7 separate regions of the Homo sapiens genome follow, and regions 1, 2, 3, 5, 6 and 7 are each linked to region 4. The links are contacts of gene promoters, found by promoter capture Hi-C in blood cells and fetal thymus (Javierre and others, 2016). All regions are on one chromosome and are shown on one strand. The core of a region is centred on a gene start or on the middle of the fragment in contact, and the rest is flanking DNA. Distances in the headings are between cores, read along the strand shown.

Evidence for each region. Contacts are between HindIII fragments. The CHiCAGO score rates a contact against its expected background, and 5 or more counts as called.
Region 1: a contact is called between a fragment that was not itself captured here and the fragment with the promoter of CCKAR in region 4, in 1 of 17 cell types (fetal thymus). The highest score is 5.1, in fetal thymus.
Region 2: a fragment that was not itself captured here is called in contact with the fragment with the promoter of CCKAR in region 4 in 1 of 17 cell types (naive B cells); the score reaches 5.4 in naive B cells.
Region 3: a fragment that was not itself captured here is called in contact with the fragment with the promoter of CCKAR in region 4 in 2 of 17 cell types (neutrophils and activated CD4 T cells); the score reaches 8.4 in neutrophils.
Region 5: a fragment that was not itself captured here is called in contact with the fragment with the promoter of CCKAR in region 4 in 2 of 17 cell types (neutrophils and fetal thymus); the score reaches 6.5 in neutrophils.
Region 6: a contact is called between a fragment that was not itself captured here and the fragment with the promoter of CCKAR in region 4, in 1 of 17 cell types (neutrophils). The highest score is 5.8, in neutrophils.
Region 7: a fragment that was not itself captured here is called in contact with the fragment with the promoter of CCKAR in region 4 in 1 of 17 cell types (fetal thymus); the score reaches 5.5 in fetal thymus.

Annotation. Positions count from the first base shown.
Region 1 is chr4:26,747,039-26,749,792 of GRCh38, forward strand. It overlaps TBC1D19 (TBC1 domain family member 19), which reads left to right. Exons shown (of 21, transcript NM_018317.4): 19 at 1,373-1,488. Among named protein-coding and RNA genes, the nearest start is that of STIM2-AS1, 110 kb to the right of the region's middle. The HindIII fragment of the contact is 1,990 bases long and covers 357-2,346 here.
Region 2 is chr4:26,964,854-26,967,811 of GRCh38, forward strand. All of the region lies in intron 3 of STIM2 (stromal interaction molecule 2), which reads left to right. Among named protein-coding and RNA genes, the nearest start is that of STIM2, 110 kb to the left of the region's middle. The HindIII fragment of the contact is 873 bases long and covers 1,132-2,004 here.
Region 3 is chr4:26,015,336-26,018,365 of GRCh38, forward strand. No RefSeq gene overlaps it. Among named protein-coding and RNA genes, the nearest start is that of LINC02357, 54 kb to the right of the region's middle. The HindIII fragment of the contact is 3,593 bases long and covers 1-3,030 here.
Region 4 is chr4:26,489,111-26,492,118 of GRCh38, forward strand. It overlaps CCKAR (cholecystokinin A receptor), which reads right to left and starts at 1,374. Exons shown (of 5, transcript NM_000730.3): 1 at 1,046-1,374; 2 at 123-374. The coding sequence starts at 1,157. The HindIII fragment of the contact is 9,380 bases long and covers 1-3,008 here.
Region 5 is chr4:26,980,970-26,984,117 of GRCh38, forward strand. The region is part of intron 3 of STIM2 (stromal interaction molecule 2); the gene reads left to right. Among named protein-coding and RNA genes, the nearest start is that of STIM2, 120 kb to the left of the region's middle. The HindIII fragment of the contact is 3,163 bases long and covers 1-3,101 here.
Region 6 is chr4:25,999,040-26,001,819 of GRCh38, forward strand. No RefSeq gene overlaps it. Among named protein-coding and RNA genes, the nearest start is that of LINC02357, 70 kb to the right of the region's middle. The HindIII fragment of the contact is 670 bases long and covers 1,071-1,740 here.
Region 7 is chr4:26,774,761-26,777,473 of GRCh38, forward strand. It overlaps a transcript of TBC1D19 not described here. Among named protein-coding and RNA genes, the nearest start is that of STIM2-AS1, 84 kb to the right of the region's middle. The HindIII fragment of the contact is 242 bases long and covers 1,267-1,508 here.

The sequences.
Region 1 (2,754 bases), core at 102-2,601, 260 kb after region 4:
AGTTATGGATTATTTCTGGAATTTTTCATTTAATATTTTTGGACTGTTGGTGACCACAGTTGGCTATGGGTAACTGAAACCACAGAAAGTGAAACCGTAGGAGGATGACTATACATAAATTATAGCACAATAAGCTTTATTTCTAAAAAGCTATGCTATGTTATTTCTATATTGGTGGGTGGGGATGTGTGGCACTATTCCTCAAATATGACACTATGAGAATTTGAGTAAAATGAAGCAAGCTGAAGTTAATAATTTTGACTTTAAATTCAAATGTATTTTGTAAGTTATTAAAATATCCAGTGGCCCAAAGTTTCTTTTGTATATATAAAGAGATATTCTAAAACCACCCAAAAAGCTTAGTCAATACTAGTGCCTACATGTACTTTGTTATATTAGAACAATAGTTATGCAGTATTGAGGAATTTCTGAAACTTGAGGATCTTTTTCAGTCTTAAGATAATTAATACAATGACACCAACCAAGGCAACCTCTGGGTCCTTTTCTGTCTTTTAAGAGAATAGCACAGATGTTTATTGACAAAATATGATAATTCCAGCAAACAGTTTAGCTAGTACCTGTCAGGGACAGTCAAGTGATATTAGATGCTAATAGATAATACAGAAATATGAAGAACTGGTTGATCCCTTAAGGCACCAGAGCCAAAGAGTTCATTTCCTGATTTCAGAGATAAATTGTTATTGTAACATAACCTACTTGTAAGTAGTAAGATCTCATACATCTTAGAATTGTTTTAGCAAAATGGAATTTAATTGAATTTTCTGGCTGATCTTTCAGAGTTCTATAACCTCCTAACTAAAATGAAGTGTTTGAAATCAGAAATCTATTTCTAATGTCTCATAGCTTTAAAACTATTTTTGTCCTTATACTCATACTTGTTATTTTATTTTATTCATCCTATATAGCCATTTGACTGAAATGTAGAAAATAATTTATTAAATTGAGAAAATATGCAGGCATTGAACAATCTTTCAAGTATTTTGAATAAAAATTCAAATTATTATAGATTGCCTGGAATTGTTAAGACTGTCAGAAGGTCAGCTCATTGATAGCTAAGTAGTATACACTCTGAAAAACAGAATGTAGAAATGGGTTTTATAAAAGCTGACCTCTAGAGTAAAGGAGGACCCAGCATGTGTAATTCTTCCTCTTAATACTTTAAGACCACTAATTTGAGGACTTATGGTTTCTCACCACTGCACTCTTGCAGCTTTCAAGAAAGTACTTAAGTTTTAAATGCCCAGGTGATTTCTAAGACTCTTGAATAGAATTGGTTGGGTTCTTCTGATATTGCATTTTCATGAGAAAAAATTTCAGTGGTACATTAATTTTTATTTTTCCTTGCTTATAGACTTCGCATATCATTTAAGTGGATGGTTCGAGCTTTCTCTGGATACTTAGCTACAGATCAGCTCTTGCTTTTATGGGATAGAATCCTAGGATACAACTCTCTGGAAATTCTTGCTGGTAAGAGTAAATGCTTGTTTGTAGAACACATGCTGTTTCTATAATAAGTCCCCTTTTCTTCCTAACATTCACCATCCGTAACTGGAATTTATTTGTCACTTCTAATTCATGAACAATTAATAGATATATCTGGCTTTGACGATAAGTACGAACAAAAACTGCAGTCTTGATACTTTTATGTAACTGCACAATACCAGCCTACTTCTAGTCTTTCTTCCCAGCTCCCAGGAAAGTTCATTTTCCCTTCCCTTTCCCTCTCCCCTTTTAGTCCAGCTAGGTCTCACTATCTCCCAACACCTATGAGGTCTGTGCAGCAGAGTGTAGATATACTTCCCTTCTACTCTGGACTCCCCTGGCTACCTTAGCAGTCTGTTCTATGCCCCATCTCAACACCTAAGATCCAAACTGAGGCTAAGCCTCCCTACATGGCTGAAACCTCAGCTCTTCTGTGTCTATTTATAAATGAAGTTAAAACCTTTTCCTTTTTGCTAACAGTCTCTGACTTCCTCCCTGGTGGCTGAGTTTCCCCTTTTATTCTCTCAGGCCAAAAACTATTTCATCTTTTTTTCAAAGCCACAAATTTATCTTTTATTTAATAATTAAGCAGTTCTTACAACAGATGTATGCCCAAGGCAATTATATGATTACAAAGAAGGCATATATTTCTTATTAATTATATTATTTTGCTTCTCTTGTGCACAATAGACTCAATTACTTTATTAGTGAGATTACCAGGAAATTCAAATAATAATTACAAAGTTTTCACAATAGATAGGGATCAGAAAAGTTGGCAGAATGTTTCCATACCTTAAATTGATAGCATTATAAAATCACCTCTCTGGGCTGCTGTGGAAATAAAGCTTAGTTGAAGAAGAATATGATAGGAAGATTCTCTAGGTATCATATTAACATATTCGGGTTGTTTTTTTTTTTTTTTTTTGAGACACTCTTACTCTGTGGCCCAACCTGGGGTACAGTGGCATGATCTTGGCTCACTACAACCTCCACCTCCTGGGTTAAAGAGAGTCTCCTTCCTCAGCCTCCCGAATAGCTGAGATTACAGGCGCCTGCCACCACACTCAGGTAATTTTTGTATTTTTAGTAGAGACGGGGTTTTACCATGTTGGCCAGGTTGGTCTGAAACTCCTGACCTCAAGTGATCCACCCGCCTCGGCCTCCCAGAGTGCTGGGATTACAGGTGTGAGCCTCCAGGCCCAGCCTTAACATATTCTTGAATGCTGAGAAGTCTATAGTTATAGTTACTGG
Region 2 (2,958 bases), core at 318-2,817, 480 kb after region 4:
AAAGCATGTCCATCCACCTACAGAAGTTAAGTAAAGCCAGACGAGCTGCATTAAGGAACATTTACTTTCATCTTTTGTCACTCCTTCAGTGAGAGACGCTGTGCTAGATTAATAGCTAGGAGGATATTTGTACTTAATGTAGAGCATTGAAAAAACACAAGGCTGTTAATATGCTACAAATACCTGTGCTGTTTTAGTAAATCAGGTTTTAACACTTTTCCACTTTCCTACAGTGCTTTTAGCTTTAGGGGAAGCTCTTATTATAGCCACAGTGGAGGGATTGAGTTTTAATTGTTCACAGAAAGCACCTTATGCAAGGGAAGGTCCATTCTTGAGGTAGAGTGTAGTTTCAGAGTAACAGATGTCATCATTTCTACCACTAACAAAAGGTCTTTAATAGTCCGGGTTTCTTCTGTGAAGAGAATAGGTGACACCAGTATGTTGCTCATTCACTCTGTCAACCAACATTTAAGGGAGTTTAACATGGGTTTGCTAGAAAAATAGTGTCTCTCTTGATTAATTTACAAATTTGGCAAACATTGTTTTGTATTAATCATTAGTTATAATTGATTTTTGTACTTCATACAGAGTTTGCTCCCTTTTCCCTTTATTATCAAATAACTTTCTTTTATAAAATTATCCAAATGAGTTCAGAGCACTCACAGTAAGTTGCTGATTGCTCTTAATCATGATCTTATGTTAGCATTTTAGTGTCTCTATTCCCTTCACTTCAAATCTACCCATCAGGGCTGTTTTGGTTTTATTAATTTTCTTCTTTTTCTCTTTCTCTTTTTGTTTTATTATTCTCAGTTCTTCCTCTTTCACTTAAGTACACTTGTGTTTTGGAGATTTTGGATCATTGCATATGCTGATTTGCTGGGATTAATTCTGTCTTTTTAGTTTGTGGAAGATACTTTGAGACAATCCTGCCTTCTTTACATAGATTGTTCTTGGTTTTATTCTGAAATAGAGACCCCCTCTCAGAAGAAGATGCAGAGACCACTACCTATTACATCTCTCTGTCCTGTAGAAAACTTGACAATTCTATTCTGTAGGAACACGTGAAATAAATGTTTTGAGCCTTGTTTTTTCTCACATAACAGGTTTTCCAGTATATAATTCAACATGTGAAGCTTTTCTTATGATTTAAGGAGGTACTATTCTAAGATTGTTTGTGAGTTTGCCTTATTATGGTTTTCTATACACCTGAATTCTACATTTCTCCTCTGCTATGTTCACAGACTCAAGGGATACCTCAAGGTTGGAGTACAGTAAAAGAACCTTCTGCAGAAGGTAAAAATGAGGGCTGTCCACTTTTCACTGTGATGGACTATCTAGGAAACAGTAGCCTTTTTTGGACATCATATTGTCCTTTCTACCCTTTTCCTAGTAGTTGGAAATCAGTTGCATATGAATGTGTGTTACATTTTCCTTTATCCATCTTTGTTTTGGGAAAGAGGTGGGAAGGAGTGACTCAGGAAATAGTTTTAGATTTTGAAATGTATGTTATTGCAGGAGAGTCACTATATTATATTCTACTTTATGTAGAACAAATATTTTATTTGCTGCTTTTGAATAAAGGACTTGTTTGTTGAGAATGACATTGTCTTCAAAGATGGTCAGTTAACTTTTGTTTCTTTCTCAGACAAGTCTTATGCTTACTTAAGTCTTTTTCCCCCCATTTAACTGAATGTTACTTAGCATTTTAATAGCGACTGTAATAGAAATAATGTAAATTACAAATATTAATACAATGAAAACTAAAACTTTCCAAGGTATTAGCCAGCCTTTTGAATTTGAATATGACCTTTGCTCTTTCTAAAAATTCTAAACATTTCTATGATTCTGATATGTATATTTATGTATATATTACATATATAAATGTATAGCTCAGAGGAAATGAATGATAAAAATAGAATAAATCACTTAGCATGTTTTTATATCTTATAATTAAAAACCGTTTCAATCTCTGGATGGTTACTCTGCATAGAATAGAACAAATAAAGCTTATATCTTTCTATCTTTCTCATCTCATCTGGTTTTATATTTTAAAGATAAGAACCTCTTCAATAAAAGGTCCTCAGTAAGCATTCTTCTAACCCTTGGATAATCTTCTGTTTCTCCCTCTCTTTGCATCGACATTAATTCTTTCAGGATGTTGAAAATAATAGACCATTTAGATACTTTTGATTTCAGTGTTTTAATCAGATAATTACTTAATAGTTTGAAATTAAGAATCTATATCAGTCTGACAAAATGAAACAGAATGGCACTTTTCATAGAGGGAAATTTATCGTTTTTATTTCCAGCAACTTTTCTTACCAAGTAATCAGCTAAAAAAATGCAAAACAGGTGTTTATCACTGGGAGATTATAGTTGCATAAGGGCAATGTTCTAAAAGCAAACAAAGAGATTTGTGATTCACTCATGTAAAGGTATAATAATTGAAGTCATATAAATTCAGAGTTCACTAAAAGAAGGAAAGGGAGAGAGTAGCCTTGGGGAAGACTGGCATTAAGGCAAAGGCAAAGAACTGATGAATGAAATCAGTAATGGCCATCAGAGACATGGAGGGAGAATCAGGAAGGCACAGTGTCATGAGCATCTAGAGAGGGGAGTGTTTTCAGGAAGGGATAGACGGTAATATAGTAGGGCGCATAGACTTGCCATATTGCAAAGTGTCTGCCAAGAGTCCTCCTGAATAATTCTTCATTTAGGTCTCAGTAATAAGAATAGATGTACTGCTGAGCAGACATTTTGTGTTTATATTGTGAATCCTGTGACTGATTTTGCTTCCTTCTTTGTCTGCCTTTTTTAACTGTTATTAAGGATCTCATATATTTTGTAAGTGTCTTTACCTCAGCTTCATTTTATCTTCCTGGTCCAGCGACATCTTTCATCTTTTATTCTCTTTGCATTGTATGCATCTTCGTAAGTGATTTCTTCCCTCCACTTTCC
Region 3 (3,030 bases), core at 159-2,658, 470 kb before region 4:
ACACTGCATTCTCCTTCCACATGCCCTGACACACGCTCTGAAATGCCAGGGTTCTCATGAGTCCAGCCTGCCAGGAGCAAGGCTTGCCAAAGCTGTGTCCCAGCCAAGCGGGTGGCCTGCGGAGTGAGCCATAGGACTGCATTCAGCCCAGTTCCAAGCTGGAAGGTGAGGGCAGCCTCCCAACTATTTCTTCCAACCTCAGAAACGATTCAGTGCTGGCAGTTCACACGAGGTCCCCCTGACATCTCCAGTCAGGAATGCAACTTGCTGTGGATTCTGAGGCAAAGAGAAGACCATTAGGAAGGAGGGAAGTCATTAGCAGATGGGATGACCGGCATGCATGAGAGACACATCTGCCTTTCCCTGAGGTGCCCAGGGGCTTGTGTGTGGAGCCTTCTGGGACTCTCTGACCACTTGAGACCCAGAAGATCAAAGGTCTGGTAGCCACGGCCCGCTTTGAATCCATAATTCCTTGCCTCTCACAAATGAAGGGAAGAAAAGTTGTCAGGAGGCAAAGCTGTAGCTAGCAGTTTGGCCAACATGCATGGATTGTAAACATTATTTAGTAAAAGCCTTCAAGGATGGAAGAGAGGAGTCAGGAACTCTATTCTTGACCATCTCAAAGCACTCTTGACCTCAAGGGAACTCCTGCTGCAGACTCCCTGCCCTTAACCTTCAGTCCTGCTCCATACATTTTTGTATCCTCTAACACGCCCCTGATGTGGCCTGGCTGACAATTTCTGCTGGCTGCTACCCCCCAAACCAGGGCTGGCTTGGCTCAATACACAGAGGGCACTCTGGGTTCTAGAGCATGTATTGGCTGGATATATAGTATATATAGTGATCCCACTGGTGGGTAGAGGGTACTCGAGCAGTGCTTCTCAAACTTTCATGTGCCTAGATTTATCTGGGGCTCTTGTTGAAGTGCAGATTCTGATTGAGTAATTTTGGGTGGGCCCAAGATTCTGCCCTTCTAGGAAGCCCACAGTTGAGGTCAATACTTCCAGTCCACGACTATACTTGGAAAAAGAAAGTGCTAGAAGGCTCAGCAGCTACTGCTGTGAGATCAGGACTTGCAATTCTTGTACAGAGGTCCAAATAGCACCCTCATTAAAAAGACCAGATGCCTCCCTGCCCTCATAGCTGCAGTCACTTAGCTCCCACCAGAAGGCCCAACTCCTCCCCAAACTCAGGTACCCAATATCTTGAGAGATACAAAGGGGCTGTGGGGGTTGTTATTCCCCCTCTATCCACTTCACCCTCCTATTCTCAGTGTTAGATTCTCCTCTACAACCTCCCAGCTTCCTGGGTTGACCAGCCTCTCTGCTTCACCCTCCAGTGCCAGGCCACAACCTGCCTGCTGGTGCTATGGGATGAATGTGCATCCCCCAAAGTCATATATTGAAGCTCTAATCCCCAATGACTGTGATGATGTTAAAAGGTGGGGTCTTTGGGAGGTAATTAGGTTTACATGAAGTCATGAGAGTGGAACCCCTATTCTGAAATTAGTGCCCTTATAAGAAAAGAAGGAGACCTTCTCTCTCTGACATGTGAGGACACAGCAAGAAGGTGGTCATCTGCAAGCCAGAAAGAGAGTCCTTACCAGAAAACTGAATCAGCAGGCACCTTGATCTTGGACTTCCCAGCCTCCAGAATTGTGAGAAACTAATGTTTGTTGTTTAAGCCACACAGTCTATGGTATTCTGTTATAGCAGGCTGAGCTGACTAGGATACTTGGAGTGCCTGGTCCCTTCATGGGCAGCACTAATTAATGAACACAGAGTTCTCCTCATTCCTGCAAGACTACCAGTGCCTCCTTTTCTGGCCCCGGCTAGAAAGAGCAATCTCTGCCTTTTCCATGCTGCTACTATTACCTGGAACATATAACCATAATATTAGTCACGGTGTGATTGCGATTCTGCATCTACATAATTGTCACTTCTGCTATCCTTGAGGGAGGAAATAATAATGCAGAGCTGAGCACATAATGTATATTCATTGAATCAATGATGCTGTTATTCCTGGTCCCTCTTCCTTGGGAGGCCCCTCCCTCAAATCCTTGGAGACAGTCACTATGTCTATCCTGTAGGGGACTTTTCTGGTTTAATAGCTCCAGTTTCTCCAACCCCAACCAACTTCTCCATTTAGAAGTGTTTAAGACACTAATTCTCAAGTTTGGCTGCTTGTTGAAATTAACAGGGGAGTTTTAAAAATACTGAGTCTAACCCTCAGAGATTCTGATTTATTTGGTTTGGAGTGTGACCTGGCCATCGGGATTTTTTTTAAAAAACCCAATGCTGCTAATATGCAGCTAGGTTTGAGAGCCACTTGGAGTCAGGAATTTTAGGTTCCTACCCAGCACTTTAGTCTCCAGACAGCAATGCTGTCCGGCCTGTTCTAATCATAGGTCCCCCAGTGTGAGTGAACAAGCTCTTACCTTGATCTTGAAACTAGTTCTTTCTATGAAGAGAAGGCACAGGGCTACACTAGCAAGGGACCAGAGGCTGGCATGAGACAGACCCACCATTTAAATAGGCATGACTCGAAGCAATTGTCTCCACCTCTCTAAGCCTTCGTTTCCTTACCAATAAAATGGGATCATGGTGTAGTCAGTTTCTACTGGATAACAAACCACCCCAAAACTTAGTGGCTGCGTTAGTCCATTTTCACACTGCTGATAAAGACATACCCAAGACTGGGCAATTTACAAAAGAAAGAGGTTTAATTGGACTTACACTTCCACATGGCTGGGGAAGCCTCACAATCATGGTGGAAGGCAAGGAAGAGCAAGTCACGTCTTACGTGGATGGCAGCAGGCAAAGAGAGCTTGTACAGGAAACCTCCCCCTTACAATAACCGTCAGCTCTCATGAGACTTATTTGCTATCATGAGAACAGCACAGGAAAGATCTGCCCCCGTGATTCAATTACCTCCCACCAGGTGCCTCCCACAACACATGGGAATTCAAGATGAGATGTGGGTGGGGACATAGCCAAACCATATCAGTGGCTAAAAGCACAAACATTTATT
Region 4 (3,008 bases), core at 124-2,623:
TGATGTTCTGTGATTCAGCCCTCAGCAGGGCTCCTTTGCTGTGATTGTCAGAGGTTTGGGAAGGTCTGGGGCTGAGTGGGGTCTGGGGCAAGCTCCAGAAAGAGTCACCAGCAGCAACTTACCCATGAAGTAGGTGGTGGTCTTGCAAACGGCGCTCCCGAAGATGAAATCCTTGAGCAGATTGGGGATGAGGTTGAACGGCATGCAGAAGAGACAGAGCATGAGGTCGCTGACAGCCAGGGAGAGGAGGAAGATGTTGGTGACCGTCCGCATCCGCTTGTTCCGAATCAGCACGGTGATGACCAGCGTGTTTCCCAGCACGCTGAGCAGGAATATCAAGGAGTACAAGAGAATCTGCACCGCTGGCTGCCACTCTGCAGAGAGAAACAGGAGCAAGACGGAGGGATGGAGGTGATGACAGCAGAATGCTAAAACCGAAGCCAAGGGTGAATTCCTGCCGATTTTCCCCCCACCGGGGTGTACATCACTGGACCCACGATTCCTGTCCTGGCAACATTTTGCGGAAACAAATTGAGGAAAGCAGAGACTGAATTATTTTCTTTTTAGAAGGTTGGTTTGTTAAAGGATCACTCAGGGAACCACTTTTTCTTAAGAACAAAGCTCCTCAAGTGAACAGTGATCACTTTCTTTCCTGGCTGCTAAGCATTATTTCACTTTAATCACTTCATGCTGGGTTTCCCCCCAAGAAAAGAAAACAGCTGCATGGTGACAACACCTTTTCTGCTGTGCTTGTAAGTTCAGGCTTTGACACTTGTAGTCCCTCTTGCTTCACTCAGCTTTTCCTCCCCTGCTTTTGTTCCCCCAAGTCCTATTCATGAATGCCCAACTCCCCCATGGGGGACAATAAGAATATTTGACTCTATTCTGCTTTTTAATCTCTTCTCCAAACTTCTGAACATATGACTTTATCTAGCCTTGTCTCACAATGACTTGGTTATATATATTTTTTATCAGCCTTGCCTTTGCTGATTTCTCCCACAACTCAATAGTTTCCTGAATTAAAATAACAGCTTCCGACACTTACCTTTGGAAGGACGGGGCTGATCCAAGCAGAAAAGCGTCTCATTTTCGAGCCCGAGTTCACAGGGAGGAGTGATGTTGCTTCCATTCACAAGAAGGCTGTCAACCACATCCATCCTTGCCTGCTGCTTTCCACCAAGTGCTGGAGAGCTGGTGAATTGCTCACTCCCGGCTCATTCCTCTAATGACCGAAGCGTCTCGCAGATGCAACCTGCCGTGGAGGAGCAGGGAGGGAGTGATTTCCAGGTGTGGGCTTTTTCAGCCATTCCTAAAGGCGACTTGAGTTCACCTCACTCACTCCAGCATTTGTACTCCTGTTGTGGAAAAGGCAGTGAGCACAAGCCAAGCCCGCTCCACCTTCACCCCGCCCCACCTCCCCCGGCCCTTTCCTGGGCCAGTCTTAGGGCCCTGAGTACAGACAGCCTGGCTACCCGTTAACCATTCTCAGCGTGTGGCTGCTTTTTACACACATGTGTACATATGCACGGACACACACACACACACAGAGGCTTCCCCAGTACTCCTCTATATAGGAACCCGTCACCATCCCAGACATATGCAGAAGAAAGCCCAAACCGGCTGTGTGAGACAGGAACAATTAACACGGTAACAGATCCGATAATGCAGACCATCAGGCCTAAAGAACACGGAGGGACTGTGTTCTACCTCCTTATAGAAAAGCAATTAGTGCCTTTTTAGCTTTGGAACCATGCCCGGTGGTGTGTGTGTGGACAGAACTGCTGGCTGGTTGTTAAGTTGCTACTAAACACAGTGTTGTTTCTCGTGGTCTCTGCCCTTGTTAACTAGGATTGAGGCACTTTTGAACATAGGTACCTGGGTCCTTATTACAAAAGACGTTAGTGAGATTTCCTCTTCATTCATGAAGCCTTGCATTCAGCACATCTTCATTGAGAGTCAATCATTTGCCAGGCACTTTTCTAGCATGTCAGCAAATAATGAGCAGAATTATTTCAGGTAGTAAGTACTACAAAGGGAGTAAAGCAGGGAGATGTGATGTATACAAACAGATTAGGGGCTGATTTTTTGGGGGGCGGGGACAGGGTCTTGCTCTGTTCCCCAGGCTGCAGTGGAGTGGCGCGATCATGGCTCACTGCAGCCTTGCTCCCTGGCTCAAGCAATCCTCCTACCTTAGCCTCCTGAGTAGCTGGGACTACAGGCACACACCACTAAGCCCAGCTGATTTTTTTAGTTTTAGAAGAGAGGAGGTCTCGCTATGTTGCCCAGGCTGGTCTCAAGCTCCTGAGCTCAAGCAATCCTCCTGCCTTGGCCTCCCAGTGTTGGCATTACAGGCGTGAGCCACTGCACCTGGCCTGGGGCTGCTGATTTAGAAGGGGTAGTCAGGAGAGGTCTCTTAAGGAGGGGACTGTGATCTGAGACTGAACCACAAGAAGGACAAAGTCTTGTGAAGATCCCAAGACAGCTTCTCCCAGGCAAAAGGAGGAGCACTTTTAGCAGAGGTAACAGCAAGTGCAAAGGCCCTGAGGTGGGAATGAGTGTGGCCCCATTGAGGTACAAATAGATAGAAGTAGGAGTGAGTGAGAGGCAAACAGCAGGACGTGAGATCAGAGAGGGGGGCCATCTCAGGGTCCTGGGTGTTCCATGAAGCTCTGTGGTGCTGGAAAGCCCTTCAACCTCCATTGCACAGATTATGTCCTCAGTTCAGACCCTTTGGAAAGCAGACGACAATGGCTGTGAAACCTGCGTTTCTGACGCCCTGCTTGGCTGTGCTGAGACTTGGTCCATTTGCTAGATACCCGTGGGGCTCCTTGTGTACTGACAATGCTTCCACTGGCAGAGCTGCATGCTACATCTTGCTGAGTCTCTGCCAGACACAGAGGAACTAACGCATTTTTACTGTCAGTGTGGGGCTGGAAAGACAGTGGTGCCTCTTTTCTTTGAAACCATGAAGACCACATGGTTTGGGGCATTTAGTCACAGAAACAAGA
Region 5 (3,148 bases), core at 270-2,769, 490 kb after region 4:
TGAACTAAATGAATATCCAGCAACAAGTAAACTTAGGTATTCTGAGGCTTCTTAAATACTAATACCTACAGAAACCCCAAGGTACAGCTATTCTTTCCCAGATAGACAAAATCCAAAAGTGAGTAAGAATGCAGAGCTTGACTGCCTGTATTCAAGTCTCTACATAACACTTACTAGATTTGTGACATCGGACAGGACAAATAACTTGATCTCTCTGTCCCTAACTTTCCCTATTTGTGAAATCTCGCTAATAAGTACCCACCCCCCACCTTAGAGGGTTGTGCTGAGGATTAAATGAGTCAACAAGTATATAGAGTTTAGAACAGTATTTGATAGCTAATAAAGCCTAATGTTTGCTGTTATTAATATTGTTAAAAGGCTACCATACTTTCTTGGAGAAAATCACAAGCTACAAAGTAATGGAGAAGCTCGCAATTAGTAGAATTCTCTACCTGCATAATTGAAGAAGAACTGAAAGATTTCTTTTTTAAATTTTAATTTCTTAATTGAAAGTGATTTCAAATTTAGAGAAAAGTTGCAGGACCAGAGCAAATAACTCCCATATACACTGTGTCTAGATACCCTCCGCTCCCCTTCCAGTGCCACCATTTGCCCTAATAATGGCCTTTTATAGCCAAAGGATGCAGGGTGATGCATTGTACCCGGTTGTCCTATCTCTCTAGTTGTCTTCAGTATGGAAAAATTCCATAATACTGCCTGGACTTTTACGACGTTGGCCAGTAATCTTCAAAAACATCACTTTTGTAGTAAATAACTAAATTAGGATTTGTTTGATATTTTTACATTGTTAGACCCAGGTTATGCATTTTGGGCTGGACTATCACAGGAGTGATTCTTTTTATTATATCATTTTGGGTGGCACTTGGTATCATTTGCCTTATTACAAATGGTGTTATCTTTGTCATTTGATGAATATAGTGTCTGCTGTGTTTCCATAACTATAAAGGTATTTACCCCACACCGAACAAATGTGTAATTCTTTTTTTTTTTTGGTGGAGAGATACTTGAAGACTATTTAAAATCACATTCCTCATTTCACTTTTTAGTTCTAGCATCTATAAATTTTTTTTGCCTGACTTAATTATTGCTCACATGGTTGCTAAATGGTAACTTTTTGAATTCCATCATTCCTTCTACTTACTAGTTGGCGTTCTACTATAAGGAAGAGAATTAAACAGAGTGTATATCAACATCTTGTCCGTGAAGATGCTGGGAGATAACAAAGACATATTTTGAAACTAGGAATTTGAGAAAGACTGATTCTCAAAAACTTATGAATGCTTTGAAGATTGATCTTCTGCATTTATTCATTTATATCCTATTTTATTCAGTCAGTTTTGAGTTTGTTACTATTATGATTTTGATGCTCAAATTGTCCCAAATTTAGTTAATGGGAGGCCTTTCTAACTGGCTTCTATATCTTTTTATATCCTTTCTAACTGGCTTCTATATTCTTTAAAATATCCTTTTCTAACTGGCTTCTATATCCTTCTGTATCCTCTTTTAAGGATTAAGGATATTCTTTATTCTTTTATATATCCTTCTATATCCATCATTTTTTGAGCTCTTCCCTACTTATTGGCACAAAAAGTATCCAGGCTCATTGTGTTATGTCTTAACCTCAATCCTGGAAACAGCCATTTCTCCAAGGAACCCTGGTTATTTTTAGCTGAATTGCTGTTTAGAAACCAAGATTTGGGCACTAGGTATGTTCATTGCTACTGAGATATTGTTGTTCCCAGACCTCAGTGGACAGAGTTAAGAAACATGCACACCTTATATTTCTTTTTTTTTATACTGAAAATCATGAATTCACACTGATACCTGATAAACTCCAATTTCAGTCCAACACTTTGGGTTAATTCTAGCTTAACTCCTTTTTCTATTTGTACTTCACTGACAGTGAAAACTTGACTCTGTTATCTTAATATGTTTACGTAGTTGCTCAGTCCCTCTGTAGGTAGCCAGGGTCCTGACCCCACGGGCTGCTACCTCTTTCAGGGGCCTGCCTTATGTGGGCCTCGGCCTTCACAAGGCTGCCACCCTGTTGTCCGCATTATAGAGATACTAGCTGCTGTTAACCTGTCTCATCCCCATGTGGGACCAGATTACTTCTGGGTAATTGAAAGACACTGAAATGAATATGAAAATTGAAAAAAAACTTGGGAGAAAAATCGGAATGCACACTATCCAGTAACTTGGTGGAAATGAATCAGTCTTTTTGAGTTTGATGACTGAAGCACTTTATTCACATTTTGCCTTTCTCATATGATTCTCTGGCTGTTGACAAAGGTCCCCTATGAATGGGGAGCCTATTTAGTAATTTAATCCTTTAACCATTGTGTCAGTACTACAATTAAACAAACTTTTCCTAAAAGTTATTTTTGCCACTGATAATATTAGTTAAACCACTGCTATGTATACCAGCTGAAGGCCAAGTTGGAAAATGTTATATACCAGGTAAATGTAGCTTAATAATATTTGTGAATTATTAGATTTTTAAATGCTAAATGCACTAAGAAAAATCATATATAATTGAAGATCAAACAAATTTCTGAGTACAGTTGCCTTGAAAATATTTCTACCATTGGAATTGGCTAATTTTTCTATTATTGAAGAAATCAAGGTTTACAAGTTCTGAATGTATTGTGTCTTCTTACCTGGAAGTTGTTTGGCAACTAGAGTGAAAACTCAATTTTTAGCTGGCCTTTGATATAATAAAGAAGGTATTTATTAACTAGGCTTTTGTATTCATTTTTTGTTGAACTCCCTCTAAAAGTTAATGCATTTCTTACATCATGCTTTCTGGTAGTCTTGGTAATAACTCCTTGATTCTGATGTTTTATTTATTTAATCCAGTGCCCAAAGTAATTACTGTGCAGTCAGTAAATATTTGCTGCATGAAGGAATTCCAAGTTGCCTACAGAAAATCTTTTGAAGAAACTTTCAAATTCTAAGAGAAAAAAGTGTTAATAGCAGAAAATTAAAGCAAACAGTTGTAAAGCTATAATTGAAAAGCTATAATTGAAATGTTTCTTTATTGTTATACTTTGGAAAATAGCACCCTCTTCATTTTATGAAGCTTAGTCACACTTTTGAAAGTTTGTTGTTTTATCTAGAAATGGTT
Region 6 (2,780 bases), core at 156-2,655, 490 kb before region 4:
GGAGATTGACCCCACGTCTGGCCCCAGCCCTAGGGGAGGGGGATATTCCAGGCCCCATCAGTCTTATTAGTCTATCCCCTCAATCATGCTGATTGCCTCAGGGATGGACAGGAGGCCTGCATTGATCCAATGAGACACAATTCTTGGAGTTTTCCAGAAGTAGAAGCAGCAGTTCCTTTTTCCTCTGGAATTGCTAAAGAATAACAACAGCAATGACAATAATACGTATCAAAGGCTTACTATAGGTGCTATTATTATCCCCCTTTTTACAGATGAGAACACTGAGGTGCAGAGAGGTTAAGAGACCTGGTGACAATCTGGAGCACTGGAGGCCACCACATAGACAGGTCTCCTCAAGGTAAAGTCAACACCTTGAAGTCAACCATGCTCAAAAGAAAGAGTTTCAAGGAGATCAAGCCCCGATGATGTCATTTGAGTCTCTGGATTCAGCTAGACCTAGGACTTTTCTATTTCTTGAGCCTGTATTGTAAGTGTCAGCCAACTTGAGTTAGGTTTTGGCACTTCGCAACTCAGAAAGGCTTGGCATGAAAAATTATGGAGGACCTTGAATTTCAGGGGTAGGGGAATGGAGAAAATAGAAAGGAACCAACAGAACTTGCCTATTGTTAAGACAGGCATTGTGCTAGAGGCTTTCCATACGCTATCTCACTTAATCATTACAACAGCATGTTTGATGAGTAATAGTCACATTTTATAGATTAGGAAAATTAGGTCATAAAGGGTTCAGTCCATTGGTTCATTCACCATATATTTTATTCTGGATCATGTACTCTACTAGATATTGAGCAGTCAAATAGCAATAATAACAATAGCTAACATTTTATTGAGAACTTACTGTGTGCCAAACACTGTTCCAAGCATTTGACATTCATTGTCTTGTTTATTCCACTGAACAACCTTGTGAAGGTAGTTATCATCATCCCTATTTTATGCATGAGGAAATTAAGGCACAGAACCATTTAGAAATGTGCTTAAGGGCAGGTGGCTGGGAAGTGGTGAAGACAGAGTGGCTTCAGGGGCCAGGACTCTGACATGATACCATGCTGCCAAGCTTCTCTCTGGAAGTTCAGGGTAGCTTGCCTCAGGTCACACAACAGCAGTCCAGGCTGGTTCACCTGACCCAAAGCAAGCTCTTTCCTCAGCATCATAATGCAATTGCACATAGTGAAGTTGGAGTTCTATTTTGAAGAGGATTGGGAGCCAACAAAAGGTTTTGGGAGGAAAATGATGTGTTCCCATCAAAATTATGCCATATTTCAAAGAAGGGATGGGTCCTTCATTGTATTTATTCTGACTACGAGACAAAAACACATCCCCATAAACACCTCCCAGAGGCCACACATTAGTGTGGTTTATACTGTGTGCCATGACATACAGAAATGGGTTTCATTTCTGTTTTTAGGGAGAAAACTTCCTGCTTGTCCTGGCACAGAACCCCTTGCAGCAGGACACACTGTTGGCCAGCATAGGAACTTGACTCTTGCATGTCTTTTCTTTTGAACTGCCAACAGCTCTTACTAACCTTATTTTGGTAACAGCTCCCTTCTTTTGTTTCAGAACTGACCCTCCTCTATTCCACATGAGTCTGTTAGGATCCCCTAACTCTGGCCAGAGGGTCACTGCCCCTGAGCTGCAGTGATGAGCTCATGGATCGGGAATGCCATTCTAGTAAGAGCAATCAGACCCTTCTGGGAGAAGAGTCTGGCACTAGAAGAGAAAAGCTTACTTTTTATTGAGAGTGAATGATGTAAACTGGAACCTGTCTGTGATCATACTCATACCCTCCTCTCCACAATCCCTAAAGTCACAGGGAAGAAGCTCATCTCTTGCAATAGGAGTAAGCCTAACATCCCAAGAAAAGCACAGCTGAGAAATGGGCAGAGAGAGAGAATATTACTGAGTTTCTGCATCCAGTCATGCTGGAGAACAATTCCATTCCATGAACTCCTAGTTTCTGGAATCAGTAAATATCCCCTTTGCTTAAATTGGCTTGACTTGAGTTTCTGTTGCTTGCAACCAAAAGAGTTCTGGCTAAGACTTGGTTTGTTACCCAGAGGCTTTATTATCTATTGTTTGTTTTTGTTTTTAGCTTTTCTCACTTTCATCTTCACAAATGGTAATAAGTTGAGAATGTGTGTGAAGATCTAACTGTAAGCTAATACTGGCTGCTGAGTTATTTGTTATGGTAAACATTTAGAAAAAAACTTAGATGGCTCATAAGGGATCATTCACCTGTACAATAACCTAGTGTCCCTAGGTCTGATGACTGTGGATAAAAAATGACATCTAGTGATGTTAATGGCTTGACTGTGGTACGCAGGGGTTCAGCTCCACCCAGAGTCCCCACGGTTTTGTCTGGGGGTCCCATGGTAATGTCTCACATAAGTTCAAGGACAGGCTCACTTGTATTTTTCAACTCTGGCTTCCTCCTTGAGACATTTCACCACTGCCCAGGGCTGTCTGGGAAAACTGCTACTCTGTGTGAAGCTGTCCTTTGGGGTGGCTTGAGCTCTGGAGTATCAGAGCTGGGCTAGGCCAATGGGGGTGGGAGGACCAGTGAAGGAAATCGCCCTGCAGTGGGCTGTGGCATCTGTGCTTTATCTTTCTCTCTTCAACAAGCTTCTGTATGTTATTTCCTCTGTTAAGAAACCCGGTGATCTGGGAGGAACCAGGCCTGGCCAGTCAAAGTACTTTCTCGCCCTGACAATGAAGACTTGCCAAGAAGTGACATGGGACCCATGCAGGAGGACAGATCCCCA
Region 7 (2,713 bases), core at 138-2,637, 290 kb after region 4:
TCCTTTCCCATATCAATATCTTTTATTTTTTTCTTGTCTGTTTGCATTGCTAAAAGTTCCAAGAAAACATTGAGTAGACATTGTAAGAGTGATATCCCTCACAAGTTCTTAATCTAAGAAGGAAAGCACTTATTCTGTCTCCATTACATATGAGCAGCAGGCTTCAGCCTTTTGTAAGGTTAAGGAATTTCCTTTCTATTCCAAGTTTGCTGAGAGTTTTTTTATTAGGAACTAAGGTTGAATTTTGTAAAAATGACTTTTCTGTATCCATTGAGAATAACCATATAAGTTTTCTCTTTTCGTATGTTAGTATTGAGAACTGGTAAATTGCATTTTAATAATTTAGGGCAGTACTGCTATGATTTGAAAGCTTGTACCCTCCAAAACTCATGTTGAAATTTAATTGCCAGGCCAGATGCAGTGGCTTACACCTGTAATCCCAGCACTTTGGAAGGCTAAGGCTGGAGAAACACTTGAGCCCAGGAGTTTGAGACCAGCCTGGGCAACATAGTGAGACCCTGTCTCTACAAAACATTTTTAAAAATTAACCAGATATAGTGGCACACGCCTATGGTCCTAGCTACTCAGGAGGCTAAAGTGGGAAGATCACTTGAGTCCAGGAAGTGGAGACTGCAGTGAGCTGTGATTGTGTTACCACACTCCAGCCTGGGCAACAGAGCGAGACTCTGTCTCAAAAGAAAGAAACAAAGAAATTTAATTGCCAATATAATGGTATGGGAGGTGGGGACTTTAAGAGATGATTAGGCTATGAGGGCTCCAGCTTCATGTGTGCCTTACTAAAAGGGCTTTCAGGGTGGCTACTCTTTGCCCTTCCACCATCAGATGACACAGCAAAAAGGTCCTCTCCAAATGCCAACACCTTGATATTGGATTTCCCAGCCTCCAGAACTATAACTTTCTGTTCTTTATAAATTACCCAGTCTCAGGTATCCTGTTATAGCAGAACAACATGGACTAAGACAAATTCATACAGGAAAGCCAGGATTTGCTTGATCCTGACAAATAAAGGGCTTTCCCTTTATTTGTCAGTTTTCAAGGCAATGAGTTGGTATCTTATTATTCTTCAAAGGTGGTCAGTTTTTTTTTAATATCATTGTGAACTTATGTAGTTAAATGTGATATGTTATGGGTTTCATTCCCATGCAGTTTTTATCCTTATTGAGGTTCAAGGTTTCCCATCTTCAGTCAGTGACAGCCACTTCAAGGAGTAAAGTTTTTTTTGTCATGACTCTAGTCATCATTGAAAGCTTACTTGCCATCAGGTATGACAAGATGTTCCAAGTTTATCTTATACACTTTCTACCCAAAACCTGAAATTAGTCAATTCTCAAAGAAGTCATGGTATCTTTTAGTAGTAAACAATATTTTAAGGCCACAATCTGATCGTTAGGTCTAATCATTGCTAGTAGGTTGGTCATTGTTATTAGGCCTTTTCAGGTGCTCAGAGGTAATTTCAAATTCAAATACAGACTTTGTATTTTTACTTAAGCTTTCATATATATATAATTTTTTTCTGCATACTAATAATAGTTTTCAAGAATACAAGAGGTGATGGGATAAAATATCTATAATCATTCATTTGCTTTATCCAACAATTCACATATAATAGTCTTAAGATAACAAAACTCACCCCAACAGAAGAGTTTGTAAATGTCTGTATTATATGTTTTTCCCAATTTTGCACTATGTCTACATTGTCAGAGCATATAGCCAGAGCAGACTATATCCTAGTCCATTTAACCCCTTAGTCTTAGTTCTACAAGTAATTATATTGAATACCCACCATCTGTACTTGTGTCAATGTCATCCTAGTCATTTTGGTTGTCTGAAGCTTGTTTTCTATTTAGATACCTCAAGAAGGGCTCATGGGAGAAAATAATCTCTTAAGTTTATATGTTGATAAGAGCTTGTATGTACTCTTTTTCTTGAAAGTAAGTTTAGTTACATGTAAAATGCTTGGCTCACATTTTCTTTCCTTGTGTATCTTAAATATGTTATTCTGTTTTTCTCTGGCTTAAAATTAGATGGTCATCTAATTTTCTTTCCCTTATAAATCACTTGCAGTTTTTGCCTAGATTTTGTAAGGATTTTTTTCCTTTTCATTAAGCCAAGTAATAACTAATATATATCTTTCTGTTTGTTGTTTTGTGTTCACATTTTGAAGTTCATCGTGTGCTCTTTCAATATGTAATTTCAAATTTTTTTATTTCAAGAACGTTTTGTTGAATTATAGCTTGTAGAACTATAGTTGCAGAATTTATTTTATTTCCTTGTTTTGGTGTTATTCTACAGGAAACGCTGGGACAGGCCACTTTATATCTTTACATAGCTCTATTAGGCATCTCTCTCTCTTCTTTTTTTTTTTTTTTTTTTACGGAGTTTCACTCTTGTTGCCCAGGATGGAGTGCAATGGTGCAATCTTGGCTCACTGCAACCTCTGCCTCCTGGGTTCAAGCGATTCTCCTGTCTCAGCCTCCTGAGTAGCTGGGATTACAGGTGCCCGCCACCATGCCCCACTAATGTTTGTATTTTTAGTGGAGATGGGGTTTCATCATATTGGTCAGGTTGGTCTCGAACTCCTGACCTGAGGTGATCTGCCCACCTTGGCCTCCCAAAGTGCTGAGGTTACAGGCGTGAGCCACCGCACTCTGCCTGTTTGTTTGGTTTTGTTTGTTTAGACAGAGTCTCTCTC